Regions from separate parts of the Homo sapiens genome. Here region 2 is linked to region 1. Evidence: promoter capture Hi-C in human tissues and cell types (Jung and others, 2019). All regions are on one chromosome and are shown on one strand. Each heading gives the region's core, a stretch centred on a gene start or on the middle of the fragment in contact. The rest is flanking DNA. Distances are from core to core; before and after follow the strand shown. Region 1 holds the start of LHX5 (LIM homeobox 5). Region 2 has its middle 100 kb from the start of TBX5-AS1.

Evidence for each region. The method cuts DNA at HindIII sites, captures the fragments that hold promoters and counts their contacts. A contact is called where the count stands out against the background at its distance.
Region 2: a fragment that was not itself captured here is called in contact with the fragment with the promoter of LHX5 in region 1 in 1 of the 25 tissues and cell types used here (dorsolateral prefrontal cortex).

Annotation. Positions count from the first base shown.
Region 1 is chr12:113,470,470-113,473,169 of GRCh38, reverse strand. LHX5 (LIM homeobox 5) reads left to right here and starts at 1,299. Exons shown (of 5, transcript NM_022363.3): 1 at 1,299-1,844. The coding sequence starts at 1,672. It overlaps LHX5-AS1 (LHX5 antisense RNA 1), which reads right to left and starts at 1,167. Exons shown (of 2, transcript NR_126425.1): 1 at 1,088-1,167. RefSeq lists an enhancer at 1,417-2,217. The HindIII fragment of the contact is 9,096 bases long and covers 1-2,700 here.
Region 2 is chr12:114,508,469-114,511,168 of GRCh38, reverse strand. No RefSeq gene overlaps it. Among named protein-coding and RNA genes, the nearest start is that of TBX5-AS1, 100 kb to the right of the region's middle. The HindIII fragment of the contact is 9,535 bases long and covers 1-2,700 here.

The sequences.
Region 1 (2,700 bases), core at 50-2,549:
AGGAAACACACCCAAACAAACATTCACAGCCAAGTGCTGGCACAAACCCCTCCAGCTCCAGCCCTTGGTCCCAGGCCCTACTCCCTCAGCCCCCTTTCCAGAAGCGAAAGGCAAATCCTGGTTGCCCATTCCCGGCTTCCCCAACTAGGATCCCTGGTGGCCACGCTGGCCCCAGGGGAAAGGAGGCCTGGTCCCTTCTCCTACTCAGACCCACACACCCCCTCCTCACGCACACCTGCCAACATCCCCCCTCCCCCTTAACACACACACACTCTCTCTCCTCACACTCTGGGCGCCCTGCCGAGCACGGAACATACGTGCGCCGCTTCTCCTGCGCCCAATGAGGGGACGAACTTGCACACCCAGCCCGCACGGCGTGAATACAAACAGCGCTCTCATAGTCGCTGGTGTCCCCCGCCTCAGCCGTACGACCCACTCACCACAGTGCCCCATAGGCTGACCTGGAATCTGGAAGGTGCAGCGAGGAAAGGAGAGACGTGGTGAGTGCCACCTCCGAGCTGTCTGCGGGAAGACCCGTCCACCCTGAATCTCCCCCTGTCCACATCTCCCTCAGAGCCCCGTGAGCAGCGCACTCAGGCCTGAAACTCTGGAGTTCGGGACCAGGCCAAATGGCACCCCTCCTGCTCCCCCGCCTCCCCACCCTGGGCCTGGGCCTGGGCTCGGCGGCCGGGCGGGGAAAACTACCCAGGCCGCGCGGTCTCCACTAGCTCTCTCCATGAGAAAGGCCCGGCTGGGCCCCAGCCCCGTGTATGACAAAAAGAAGCCGGGGCCGGCTCCAGGAGCCGGGAGAACCGCGCTGACGCAGCTTCAGGGCGCAGAGGGGGCGCGGGGGTGGGGGAATCCAATCTGGGCTGGCTGGGCTGGAGAAGGGGAGCGAAGTGTGGGGCGTGGGGCAACTTCTGCAAGTTCCAGGGATGGCGAAGGGGGCAGGGGTACCTCCCGGACTAGGCCTTGGAACCCGTGACCCCCAAATATTTGTGAGGAGAAAGAGAGAGGAAGAGAGACGCAATTTTCGTTTCGCGCTGCCCCCGCCCCGTCAGCCCCAAACTGGAAGGTAAATACTTACTTAGCCTCCGAACCAGGTACAAGCTAATACTCAACAATACTGATGCCTTGTTTTTTTTGCTCTGTCCGGACAGCAACGCTGTAGCCAATTTAGATATGCTATAAATTTAAGAGGTTGCCATGGCCACGGTGCGCCCATTGGCCGCTGGGCCCCCTACGTGCAGCGCCACGTCACCAAATCTGAATAAGGATGCGCGAATTACGCGGCGACCAGACAAAGATGAGGATCCGGACCGCTTGAAAGTGGGGGAAAGTGCCGGCGCCTCCGCCACCGGGGAAAGCCGCTCCGCAGCGCCGAGGCCAGCAGCCACCCGAGATACCTGGGGAAGCCCGGAACAGGCGCCGGGGCGTGCGGCCCGTGGCATGAGGTTGTGAACGCCACCCGCCCCCCACCACCCCACTCCGGGCAGCCCAGCGCCAGGCCAGAGATTGCCCAAGGACTGGACCGGCTGAGTCTTGGTCCGGACCAGACTCGCCCTGCAGCTGCTGAGACAAGAGGCGAAGGGCAGCGGAGGGCCCGGCAGGCCCGAGGGCCAGGGGCCCAAAGGGAGGGCAAGGCGGCCGAAGCCGCCGGGGCGCGGGGCTATGATGGTGCACTGCGCCGGTTGCGAGCGGCCCATCCTCGACCGCTTTCTGCTGAACGTGCTGGACCGCGCGTGGCACATCAAATGTGTTCAGTGCTGCGAGTGCAAAACCAACCTCTCGGAGAAGTGCTTCTCGCGCGAGGGCAAGCTCTACTGCAAAAATGACTTTTTCAGGTAAGAGGCCGCGCCGCTCTGCTGCCTGCGCGCCCACCCTGCGCGCGCTCCACTGGGGCGCTGGGGAAGGGGATACCCCCATCCCCATCCCAGCCTCCCCGGATCACAAGCTTAGATGGGGAGCGGGCAGCACTTTGCTCTCCTCCTGTCCTTGGTCCAGGAAAGGTCCCGAGCCCAGGCGGAGGAAGAAGGACGCTGCTTCGCTGCCTCACGTTGGCTCGAGGCCGGCTCAGAGCGCTGGCGGGGCAGAGGGAGGAAGCCCTGACAAACTTGCTATCCACTCCTCTCCGCCCCTTCCAAGCAGCTGCAACCCCAAGACAGAAGCTTCAAGCCCCGTCCCGAGAGAGAGGAAGGATTTTTGCATGAGTTAGAGACGCCTGAAGGCTTCTCGCTCCAGGCAGAATGTGTGAGCCCATCGGCCGCAATCCCAAACAGAAACTTCTCAGCTCCAGAGGGGGCCCAGCGAGGAAGGTCTCCCCTGGTGATGGGAGGAGAGAACCTCCCCCACCCACCTCCCAACCCCTTAAACATTTCCTCCCATGTTGAAAAGTAGAAACGAAATCGAGGCTGAGAATCAGGACCTCTGGGGTCTAGACTGGGCTGTGGCACCTCCCCAGCCCCCCTACCCCTGTGGGCCCTGTGGCTGGCCAGGGCAGATCACCTCTCTGGGCCTCAGTTTCCCCAGCCTGGAAGCCACTGGAGTTTGGGGCAGCTGAGCCCTACCTGTTTCCTCTGGGCACCCAGAGCCGGCTTTGTGAACAGGAATTCCCCGCGCTGAGGAATGGGGGCGTGAATCACGCCACAGAGAAAGGCAGCCTGCCGGCCCCAGCGACTCCGCACTGAGAATTTGAATGGG
Region 2 (2,700 bases), core at 60-2,559, 1.0 Mb before region 1:
TGCTTAAGTTGCTTCAAATTTTGGTGGTCGTGAATAGTGCTGCAATAAACATGGAAGCACAATGTGCATTCAATCTTTACAATAGTAAGTAGCAATATTATTCTCATTTTGTAGATAAAGTGGAGCCATAGAGATTTAAGATCACATGTTCATACAGATTTATATCCGAATTAGCCTGACGCAATATCTCCTTACTATAAACTATGCATCTTGACACTTGATTTTATTCCTTAGAGCATTATAATGCTTATACTGTACACCGCATTCACTTGCCTTATGTTGCTCTCTATTTTTTTTCAAGGATGTCAAACTTCCTCCCAGCCATTCGGGGGTACCTTGAGGTCTGGGACTAAGCTGCTTTTCTCTCGTCTCTGGTGAAGAGATACAAATGAATACTTATTAAACGTAACTCAGAATTAACTATTTATCTCTTTGCTTCTGACATGGAAATGTAGAGAAGTTATAAACTACCTCATACATTTAGATAAATTGTTTTTCTACAAATATTCTATGGGGTTTAAAAATAACAGCAAAAGATACAGCCATCCCTCACAACTGTAATGGCAATAAGGAAATATGCATTCGTGAAATTTATTAATAATTTCCTATCTCCAGAGAGTCAAGAATTTTAACTGTATTGTTTTTCCAGATCTGCTGACAAGTTGCAAACTTCATTTGAGTGGGGCTCCACATTCTCTTCCACTTCACCACTGACAAGACCATTTGCAAACAAATCCAGTCCCACCAATGGGATGTTCTATATGCAATTTTTTAAAATTATACTTTAAGTTCTGGGATACATGTGCAGAACGTGCAGGTTTGTTACATAGGTATACACGTGCCATGGTGGTTTGTCGCACCCATCAACCCGTCGTCTACATTAGGTATTTCTTAAATGCAATTTTAAAATCTAGTTCCCAGAGACCATAATTCCATCTTTTCTCTTTTGTGCCTTCGTTCCTCCAAGGAGTAGACTAGTGTGGGAAACAGAGCTAAATTAAGGATTAGAATACCTGGTCTCTTTGATTTTTTTTTTAAATCTTCTTTTAAACTATAAAAAATATTCTTTAAAAATTATAAATACATATATTCAGAAAATGTGTAGCTCAATGACCTACTGCAAAATCAACACCCACATAACCACCACTGAGGATTTGTGTGAGACACCGGGAAAGTCACTTGAGTGACCAGTGTCCCCAGCTGTTTGAAAAGGATCTTCTTAAACCATAGTACGTTTTATTTATTTATTTATCTAATTTTATTTTTTAAGTTCCGGGGTACATGTTCAGGATGTGTGGGTTTGTTACATAGGCAAACGTTCGCCATGGTGGTTTGCTGCACCTATCAACCCATCACTTAGGTGTTAAGCCCAGCATGCATTAGCTCTTTTTCCTAATGCTCTCACCCCACCCCATCCTCCCCCGACAGTCCCCAGCATGTATTGTTCCCTTCCCTGTGTCCATGTGTTCTCATTGTTCAGCTCCCACTTATAAGTGAGAACGTGGCGTTTGATTTTCTGTTCCTGCGTTAGTTTGCTGAGGATAATGGCTTTCAGCTTCATCTATGTCCCTGCAAAGGACATGTTCTCATTCCTTTTTCTGGCTGTATAGTATTCCGTGGTATATATGTACCACATTTCTTTCTTCAGTCTGTCATTGATTGATGGCCATTTGGGGTGTTTCTATGTCTTTGCTATCGTGAATAGTGCTGCAATGAACATGGGTGTGCATGTGTATTTATAAGAGAATGATTTATATTCCTTTGGATATATACCCAGTAATGGGATTGCTGGGTCAAATGGTATTTCCGGTTCTAATCATAATATGTTGTTTTTAATTACTACCTCCTACTCCATGAGTTGGATGAACTATAATTTATCAATGTCTGTATTGTTGGCCCGTTAGGTGGTTGTTTTCTTCTTTATTACGAATAACCTTCTAAGAAGTAGCTTGTTCCTCAATCTTGTTCATATTCATAGTGATTCCTTAGGAAAAACTCCTAGAAAATGAATTTCTAGGTCAAAATGGAATGATTTTAGAGCCTTCGCAAGGCACACAATTAGTATGAAGAAGAAAAAAATGTTCTATTACCCGAGTCTATTTTGCCAAATAAATTTGAGTAATAGAAAACATTTACTCATTGAATGAAGATGCTGTTTTTGGGAACAGACAATCCAGAGGGAAGCATGCAGGCAAAGAATGGTCTACGTTGGAGGTAAAAATATTTCAAGTTGCCATTTTCAAAAATTGTAGTTTAGTTCAAACGCTCTTGCTTCCACAAGAGGCTTTGAAACAGTTTAACATGAAAGCACCAGCATCATGAAGTCTAAAGCCACTCCAAGCAGAGCACAGTGGCCACAGCCAAGTTGCAAAATTGCTTTTTAAAAGCACTCAACACCCAGCTCATGGTGAAAAATGTCTTTTAATGTCCAGCCAAGACTCGGCCGCTAGAGGGCACTAACAATACATATTTCCAGGCAGTACCAACACCGCATGAACCGAGGTTGGTTTTCTGTCCCTTTCCATCCCATCAGCCAGAAACACAAAAGGACAATGGCCCTGCAAGCTGCCCCAAACCAGTGGAAATCTTCTAGCAAATAGGCCAGAACCTTTGCTGCCATGGGTCTTCTATCTTCCAAATTCTGATAACTTTAATATTCTGTGAAAAAACGTGTAGCTTTAACCATGAGAGGAAATCTAT